Regions from separate parts of the Homo sapiens genome. Here all the other regions are linked to region 3. The links are contacts of gene promoters, found by promoter capture Hi-C in blood cells and fetal thymus (Javierre and others, 2016). All regions are on one chromosome and are shown on one strand. Each heading gives the region's core, a stretch centred on a gene start or on the middle of the fragment in contact. The rest is flanking DNA. Distances are from core to core; before and after follow the strand shown.

What was found. The method cuts DNA at HindIII sites, captures the fragments that hold promoters and counts their contacts. A CHiCAGO score of 5 or more calls a contact.
Region 1: a fragment that was not itself captured here is called in contact with the fragment with the promoter of ACTA2-AS1 in region 3 in 3 of 17 cell types (total CD4 T cells, activated CD4 T cells and total CD8 T cells); the score reaches 5.9 in total CD4 T cells.
Region 2: a fragment that was not itself captured here is called in contact with the fragment with the promoter of ACTA2-AS1 in region 3 in 1 of 17 cell types (activated CD4 T cells); the score reaches 5.8 in activated CD4 T cells.

What each region holds. Positions count from the first base shown.
Region 1 is chr10:89,244,132-89,247,265 of GRCh38, forward strand. LIPA (lipase A, lysosomal acid type) reads right to left here. Exons shown (of 10, transcript NM_000235.4): 3 at 1,545-1,662. Among named protein-coding and RNA genes, the nearest start is that of LIPA, 6.1 kb to the right of the region's middle. The HindIII fragment of the contact is 1,558 bases long and covers 821-2,378 here.
Region 2 is chr10:89,187,003-89,190,304 of GRCh38, forward strand. The region is part of intron 2 of LOC105378418 (a long non-coding RNA gene); the gene reads left to right. Among named protein-coding and RNA genes, the nearest start is that of CH25H, 19 kb to the right of the region's middle. The HindIII fragment of the contact is 941 bases long and covers 1,391-2,331 here.
Region 3 is chr10:88,930,794-88,933,988 of GRCh38, forward strand. ACTA2-AS1 (ACTA2 antisense RNA 1) reads left to right here and starts at 1,891. Exons shown (of 5, transcript NR_125373.1): 1 at 1,891-2,166; 2 at 2,848-3,093. RefSeq lists an enhancer at 1,482-1,581. The HindIII fragment of the contact is 5,161 bases long and covers 689-3,195 here.

The sequences.
Region 1 (3,134 bases), core at 350-2,849, 310 kb after region 3:
ATATATCTGTAAAGCATAAAAATCTCAAGAGTTAGAAATCAAATTTCAAAAAAAATGGTTGTCGTGGCCACCTAAACATTATTAAAATCTTATTACAGCTAGAACACATGGAAGAAAAAAGTTAAACTAGGATAAATTAAGAAAAAACAAAGCAAATAATAATACAATGCTCACATTAACACAAAGGGTGTTTAAGTTTGCTTTGAATAACAATTTGGGCAGGAATTGAGGCAAAGGTGGCTCTTTTGCCCGTATAACACTTAAATTGAAGAATAAATAGCTATCTAACTACCTTAATCTAAACCTTAATTTCCCCAAGAAAAGTCTCCAGAAACAAAAAAATGTTAGAGAATAAGCTACATCTTACTTGAACCTGGGAGGCGGAGGTTGCAGTGAGCCAAGATTGCACCATTGCATTCCAGCCTGGGCAACAAGACCGAAAATCCGTCTCAAAAAAATAAATAAATAAATAAGCTACATCTGGAGAGATAATTGAATAAAGATTAGATCCTTCTTCTGATAACTGCTTAATAATTTCAATCAGTCTGTCTAGAAATTCCTTTATCTGCACTGGAAACTGCAGTTTTGCTTGAGTTATAAAATGAGAGAGAGAAAAAAGATATACATATATATGTATATATATACTTTTTAAGCCAAAGCTACAAGAACTTTCATATATTCATAGTGATAGTAATTATCAGGACACATGCACATGAAAATCAGCTTGGCAATATATATCAAAATCACAAATGCATATATCCTGTGATCCAAAAATTCTACTTCTGGACATGTATCATGTAAATAAACTTGCACACACAAAAGCTTATTTACAGCAGCAATATTTGTTAACAGAAGACTGAAATAGCACAAATATGCATTAATAGGACACTTGGTAAATAAATAATGATACAGTCATATAGTGAAATATCATGCACTTCTGGAAGATGTGCTTTATGTATTGTATGGAAAGATCTCCAAGATATTAAGTAAAAAATTCAAAGAACAAAATAGTGCCATCTTTTGCATTCAAATGGAGGCAAGGGAAAAATAAGAATCTGTGTGTGTATTTGTTTCTAATGAGATTTTTGGAAATAAAAAGATTTTAAAATGAAGTTATTTCAAAAAGATACACAAAAAAGCAGGAAGTAGGGAGTGAGAGAGAAGGGAGGCATTTCACTGTATGTCTTCTAATTCTCTGATTTTTAGATTATGTGAATTCAAAAAAATTAAATAATTTTTAAATAGCAAAAGCCATCTATTTAATGCTCAAAACATTTCATTAAATACACTTCCTTAAAAAAACAAAGCCTCAGAGATTTTAGCATATCCTCAAATGAATCTGGCCTTTGAACAAAAAATTAGATGACTCTTGTCCTTACTTCTTTAAAAGAAAATTATTTTTCTTTGCCTTGCAAACCTCAACACAGTTAGTGCTTTCGTCTAAAAATAATCCCATTTCAATGTTTTTAAGTTAAATCTGAACTTGGTTACTAACACAAAACCCAGAAGAATTCTGGTTTTTACTTTTAAGAGCCTTCCCATACCTTTGTCAGAATGGTTCTTCCTCCCATGAGGAATTCGGTTAAGGCACAGAATATATCCATCTTCTGTCTCAACTAGGTATTCCTCACTAGGGAATCCCCAGTAAGAGATAATTTCACTCTGTAGAGAAAAAGGACGATGGAAATTGGGTGGACAGAATCTGAAACAGTCTCCCACATTAACAAGCAAAGGAGCAGATAAACTATGTTCTCCAGGCTTTAAGAAAGCATTTGTCATTGAAATTTTAGTCTGCTAAATCTAGTAGCCAACTTCTCATCACAAGAGTAAATCCTCCCTTGTTTCACGCTTGTGTTCCACCTACCGGTGTCTGGTTAAACTTCAGTTTCATCATTCTAGCATGTTTTATACCAAATTTGCCTAACTTTACCACATCTTGGGCCTCTTTGTTTCCATCCTGCCTACCGGGCACAAATAAATGCTCATTTCTTTCTTTTCTAAATATCCCAGCTAGAACTGTCAATGTATAAAACACTTTCTTTGTTTTGAGAGATCCCCTGCTGGCCAATAAAGTATAAAAAATATTAACTTGTTTTTATCAATGGACTAAAATAATTACATAGAATGTCAAGGTGGGATGGAAGAAAAGTTGAACAAAATAGGGAATTATGGTCACATTCACTTTTCTATAAGGAAGGATTCATGGGACAATTGTTAATCAGGAGCTCAGTGGGATATGGATAATTCAATTATCCAGGGGATTTAATGTAAATAAGTGCACATACCCTCTCTACCATAAGTACTTGAAAGAATTTAATTTTATCATTCTTATTTAAAAAATTATTTTAAAAGTTGGAAAAATTGGGAGGCAAAAGAAAAGCTTTGAGCTAAGAAGTAAAACTTAACTTTAAGACCCTGTTATCAGGTCATACTCTCCTGGCTCACTGTGAATTTCTCTGCGAGTCCCTAAGCTTGCCTGATTCTTCAGCTGGGTCACTGCAACATCTATTTTAAAGTTGCTGTTTTCTTTAATAATTTGTACTTTACTGATATTTTGTGCCTAAATGAGGTATTTCCAGATTTTATTGTTTACTTACGATTAATAACTTTCAGATGTTTTAATTAGTCGAGTGGTTATTTTTGCATATTTTTTCTAACAAAATTTAGCTCAGATACTTTGACTTCTGTATAGAAATATGTTCCCTGGACATTCTTAATCACAACCTTTGTTCAATGTATTCTAAAACCAGCTCTCAATAGCGGTAATGTTCTTGCAAAGTTTAAATACTTTTTTATAGTTTAAACAAACTTAGTGAGACTTAAAAATGAAATGAATTAATAAAAAATCATAATTTATCTTATTAAGAAGTATATATAACATTAAACTGAGGTTTGTTGGCTACATATTACCTGGTGAGAAAAGCCTAGCAAATTGAATCTAAGATTCAGAGAAATTGGGCTGGGCACGGTGGCTCACGCCTGTAATCCCAGGACTTTGGGAGGCTGAGGTGGACAGATCACCTGAGCTCAGGAGTTCAAGACCACCCTGGGCAACATGGTGAAACCCTGTATCTACTAAATACAAAAAAAATTAGCCAGGCATGGTGGTGCATGCCTGTAGTCCCAGCTACTTG
Region 2 (3,302 bases), core at 611-3,110, 260 kb after region 3:
TTTAGGTCATTTACTCAGATTTATAAAAGCATTGAAAGCAACTCCAGAATGATTGAAAGAAGGCTGAGGTGAGGATATGGTTATCAGTAAAATCTTCTTGACTCTGAACAAAACACATTACAGGATCCAGGGCCTCCTCATATAGCTCTGCAAGTTGAGCACTCCACATCTCTAGGGGGTGCCATTCACATTACCGCCTACAAAAATGACACTCCCTGGAGTTGTTCAGTGTACAACCTGCATGGCTGTACATGGCTGACTTAGAGAGCATATTATTGGAGAGAGGAGAGAGGAGGTGATGGGTGGGGAAAAAACGCTTTACTTACAAACTGAATTTGTACCCTGGTTTTCCACATACACTCTGGGTAGTTATGGGTAAGTCATGTAATCTCTCTGAACCTCAATTTCCTCCTTTGGCAATTGTGAAAAAGATTCTATAAGGTTGCTGGGTTAATGAGGGCTAAATGAGATGGTGTAGACAAAAGTGCCTGATAAATGGAAGGAACTTATTAAATAATATTTATTTGTAATGACTTGCAGGCTGCCAAGCAGATACTGGAGGAGGCAGGCATCCTTTATTTAAAAGAAGAAAAATAAGAATAAGGAAAATACCCCATATTTAAATGGTGCTTTATGTATTACCCTCAAAATAACCTTTTTAGTAGGTACTATAGTAGTTTGATGGTGCAGATTAGTTATGTCACTTTTTCATAGTCACAAAGTTAGTAGGTGAAAAAGCTAAAACTCAAATCCCTTCTTTTCATTAGAAGTCCAGTGTTCTATCTCTAAATGATTTAGCAAGAAACAGAGGAGGTTGCAGAAGGCATTTGAATAAAGCTCTATTGGCCAACTGGGGTTGACTACTGAGCTTCCTTGGCAATGGCTTTTACAGGACTAACTAAAATCTTTTTAAGATATATCCTTTCTTCTCATCAGCCACCTTGGGACTGCTTTTGTATAATCCAGGGATAGGAAAAGAGAAATCAGCTCTAAGACCACACATGACTACCAAGATGGAAACAGAAACATGTGAAATTTAAATGATGCCTCCAAGCTAAATTACTTTTGTTTTGCAAGAAAATATGTTTTGTGCTTTCGTCTAATAATAGATATACTTGATATGCTATGATTTGAACCAGTTCAACAACTGCTACGACAAAGGCTCAGTTTCCAAGGGAGCTTGCAATTTAATCATATTCCTCTGTGTGACCTTACTCTAAGTTCAAATCCCCCCTCCACACCTAAAATAACATACTAGTTAAAATTGAGAGCACTGCAGCCTCATGTTTGGGTTTTTATTCTGCTATATAAAACTTTGTGTGAGGTTCTTCACCACTTTGTGCCTCCATTTTTTTCTCCTCTTTAAAAATAAGATGGCATTTACTGAATAAGCTTTTAACAGTGAAGGAGTTTACATGTAAAAAAGCAAGTAGAAGAATGGTTGTCACACAGTAGTTGCTTGGTAAATCAGGAGTGCATTATGATCCTAAGTTTTTGTATACCTCATGTAAAAATATACCTCACAGAGTTCAAAATAAATGAAGCAAAAATTGATAAAACTAAAAGAAGAAACAGACACATCTACAATTATAATCGGAGATTTCCAAAACCCACTTTCAATAATTGAGAGAACAAGTAGAAAGAAAATACGGATATAAGAAACATGGAATACACTTCAATCAACTTGATGTACTAAACAACTACAGAATACTTCATCCAAGAAGAGAATACATATTCTTTGCAAGTATTGTTATAGATTGAATGTTTGTTTCCACTCCAAAAACAAAAAAAAAAATTATTTTGGAGCCCTAAGTATTGAAGCTCTAACCCCCAATGTGATAGTATTTGGAGGTGGAGCCTTTGGGAGACAATTAAGTTTAGATGAGGTCATGAGAGTGGGGCTCCCATGATGGAATTTGTGTTCTTCTAAGAAGAGGAAGAGTGACCATCGCTTGCCCTCTCAGCATCATGTGAGAAGGTGGTTGTCTGCAAGCCAGGAAGGGGACCCTCACCAGAAACTGAATTGGCCAGCACCTCATAGCCTCCAGAACTATGAGAAATAAATATCTATTGTTTAAGCCAGCCAATCTATAGTATTTTGTTATAGCAGCCCAAGCTGACTCATACAGGCACACGTGAAACATTTTCCAAGATAGATCATATTCTCAACCACAAACAGCCTTCAGAAATTTTAAATTATTCAAAACATACAAAGTAGGAGTTGAAATGGAGGGTAAGAAACTCAAAAAATTATCCCTTCTTAAAGGTAACGGAAAAACTATCAAAAACTATCAGAATCAACTTTTATTGGAACTTTGGAAACTAAACAAAAGCTTGCAAGAACCAGGAAAATGCTTAATGAATAAAAATTGGCTGACTCTCAATAAGAACAGATAACTTTTTGTCCTTTTAATTTACCCTGGCTTCATGCCCCATTTCCCATCTCAACAGTTGCCTTAAAGATAACATTCTGCATTCCTATTACAGGTACTGGTAATGGCAGGAGCAGAATGCACTTTGTTCCCAAAGAACTTTGGTCATTTGTTATGACCAGTTTGGTGTCTGCTTGGAGGATAAGCCCAAAAAGCCTGCCTTTATCTAACCTAATTTGGATTCACCCAGTGCTGCTGCTTGGGCAATAGATAGCAATTGGGCAAGCAATTAACTAACCGAAACCTTGGGAGGAAAGACTTGAAAGGAAAAGCTTAGGAGAAGCTGTCTCAAAAAAAAAAAGACAAATATTTTTATAAGAGACAAAAATGATTGGATTATGATAAAAGATTCAATTCTTCAAGAAGATATAGCTATTCAACACACATATGCACCTAGCACAGATCCCCAAAACGTGTGAAGCAAAAACTGACAGAATTGAAGGGAGAAACAGTTTAACAATAACTTCAAAACCCCACTTTAAATAATGGACAGAATAATTAGATGGAAGATCAGCAGGGAAATACAAGACTTTTTACCTTTTAAAAAATTATTTCCATATGTTTTTTGAGGAAAAGGTGGTATTTGGTTACATGACTAAGTTATTTAGTGGTGATTTATGAGATTTTGGTGCACCTATCACCTGAACAGTATACACTGAACCCAATTTGTAGTCTTTTATCCCTCACCCCCTTCCCACCCTTTCCCCCCCACCTCCAGAGTCCCCAAAGTCCATTGTATCATTCTTATGCCTCTGCATCCTCATAGCTTAGCACCCACTTATGAGTGAGAACATGCAATGTTGGGTTTTCCATTCCTGAGTTACTTCACTTAGAATAATAGTCTCCAATTCCATCCAAGTTGCTGTGAAT
Region 3 (3,195 bases), core at 641-3,140:
TGATGTGGTGTGTCTGCAATACCACATACTTTTCTCCAAGGATAAGGAAATCTGCTTAAGGACCCCTGAATTTTAGGCCTCTGGAAAACTGTCATTAACCTCACGATACGGAAGCCTGTTCCATCATCAGTTTTCCTTGAGGATAGCATTGTTTCAAACCCAGACAAATAGTAATCATTTTTATTCCCTTTAGCCAAGAAGGGGCTAGAAATTGCTCTAAGGAGGACATTCTGGGAGAGCTACAGCCTCCATGAGTAAATTAGACTGAGAGGTGGCAATGTTTGCATGTTCATTTCCCAGATGTGAGATGAATAATTTAACCTGAAAGGTGAAATGCTCAGGAAAAGCAATAATTTAACCTGAAAGGTGAAATGCTCAGGAAAAGCAGATGGTCCAGAGATGCCATACTTCTCATGCAACATTGCTTCCATTGCTTGAAATTGGTGTCTGATTTTTTCATAGAAAAAATGTTATGAATATTACTTTGGAAAATTGTAGTGAAGTCATGGTCACACTTGTGTGTGTGGTCCAGTTCTTTGGGGTTCTCTTTTTCCCAGGTATGCAGCACTTTTACATCTCTGGGCCTCTGCTTGGAACACATCCCATGCAGGTCCTACTTCCCCTTCCCAAACCTTAACCCCTTCTAGCCCCCAGCCCTTTTTTTTGTCTACTCAATTCTTACCCTTTAAGCTTCTGCTTAAGCACTATCTTCTCAGGGAGGCAGCCTCTCCTGAGCTCCTGGCTCAAGTTAGAGCCCATGGCTATAAAAGCCAGTACCCCATATAATTCTTCTTTTGAACCCCTGACAATGTACCCAACTGCTTATTTAGTGCCCATCTTCCTCACTTGGCTGCAGGTTCCATCCAGGCAGAACCTTGCCTAGTTCTATTTCCTTGACACTGCTCTCTGTCCTAGCTCATAGTGCTCTTCAGACATTACTTAAGTTGACTCTGCTCTCCCAGGAATAAACATTACTTCATACTCTGAAAAGGAAGAACCCTATCTCAGGCTGCCCCATTTTCTCTCCCTCTCTCTTTTTTTTTTTTTTTTTTGGCTGTCTCTTTCTGAATAAACTGAGCTGCGCTGCAGCAATGGCTTCTGGTTGCCTGCAAGTGTGTGTTGGTCCAGACAGCCTCCTCCCTAACTACAGTCAGACGTTCTTCTCCAAGCTGTTCTGTTAGAAATTCTTCTAAAGAGAATTTCCTAGCTACACAAATGATACCACATTAACAACAGAGGATTATTATTATTATTATTATTATTATTATTTTGAGGCGGAGTTCCACTCCTTTTTGCCCAGATTGGAGTACAATGATGCGATCTTGGCTCACTGCAACCCCTGTCCCTGGGTTTCAAGCAATTCTCCTGCCTCAGATGCCTGAGTAGCTGGGATTACAGGTGCGTGCCACCACGCTTGGCTAATTATGTATTTTTAGTAGAGATGGGGTTTCACCATGTTGGCCAGGCTGGTCTTGAACTCCTGACCTCAGGTGATCTGTCTGCCTCGGCCTCCCAAGACAACAGAGGATTATTTTTAAGTAAATAATGCCTCTTCCCACACATCTGCTCACAGTAATGGCAGCATGATGTGAATTAATGTCATTAGAAACCCATGCTGTCCTCCAGAGTTGCAAAAGCCTGTCATAGGAAAATTTTATAGTCATAGAAGGATGTTCCCCTCCTTTGAGAGTCTGGTTTGCTATTGTTAGAGGAGAGAAGAGGATTCAGAAGGCTGCCAAACCTGTATGTTGCTGGTTTTGTCTCCTCTGGAGATTGGTGTGACGCTCATGAAGGGGACTCAGCCACCTGTGCAAAGCCCAGCCCTTTATTAAGTCACTGGGCATCTCATGGAGTCAGGGGATGAATTACTGATAGATGACTGGGAGGAGGGTGCTTAGGCACTGCAGTTGAGTGGCTCACAAGGAGCTAAAATTTCACTAATGCGTATTCAGTGGGTGGTTCTGGTTTGCCTGATTTTTGCCTCTGGGCATGGCTGTTTCAGCCTGAGAGGCTGTTCCAAGAATGTTGCTTTACTAGGAGCTCATGCCGCCTGGTGGTAAATATGAAGTACAGCAGTGCAACAGACCAGTTTTACTCCAAGGAAACCCTGTAGAGATGACAGCAATGGTTGGTGATTTCTGCCTCAATTATGAAAGTGATCTGGTGGCAAGTATCTGCACACTAATCCTTAAGTTTAAATCTAGTGGCTATGAGGTGCCCCTGCATGGCAAGCATGAATTTGCAGCTGGAAGATTTCCCTCGATCATATTCCAGTGGTTCTTAAATTTTGATGTACATAAGAATCACCAGGGAAATCTGATTGAAGTTCAGGTTTCCAGCTTCAGCTCCAGAGATTCTAGCTCAGCGGGTGTTAGATGTGACCCAGGGCTCTACCCATTTAAAATGAGCTTCCGATGAGGTTGGTCCGTGTAGCCTATTCTTTGGGAAATGCTGGCCTAATGGCTAAAAACATGAATTGGAAACCAAGCACAAGAAGGAGCAAGCTGATACTTCTGCCAGCAGCATGACATTGGGCTGCTGCTAGCCTCAGTTACTCTTCTGTAAAAAGGCAGTAATGGCCAGGTGCTGTGCCTCACGCATGTAATCCCAGCACTTTAGGAGGCCAAAAAGTGGGAGGATCGTTTGAGCCCAGGAGTTCAAGACCAGCCTGGGCAACATGGCAAGATCCCATCTCTATTTTTTTTTAAAGTCAGGCAAAATTCACAGGGCTGTTGCAGGAGAAAATGGGATCCTAATATAAAGAGCTTGATTCAGGCTCTGGTCATGGCAGGCACCAGTACATCCCAGCTCTTATTATTTGTGGTATTAATCCTAATTATCTGCAAGTTACAGGGCCAGAGAAGACTAGGGGAGTTCGGGTTTTCTAGACCAAACAGACACTCAGTCCTGGGCCTGGAGGTCTCTGCAGTGAGGTGCTGCCACAGACAGAGCCACCTTAACTCCTCAGGACAACCAGTGGCTTCCGACACACACTATGCACTGGAGGGCAAGCAGCTCTCAGCTTGGGAGCAACTGAGGATGGTGAACAGCCTGGGCAAGGAGTGCTCTGAGGCTAAGACCCTGAACAGCAGGGTCAGTATTTTTTTATATCTTTGTGCCTTTCAGGCCAAATGGAAGTTGGTAGCTCTCCTATCCCATTGCATTTCTAGAGCAATCTCTGTCTCCTCAATTATA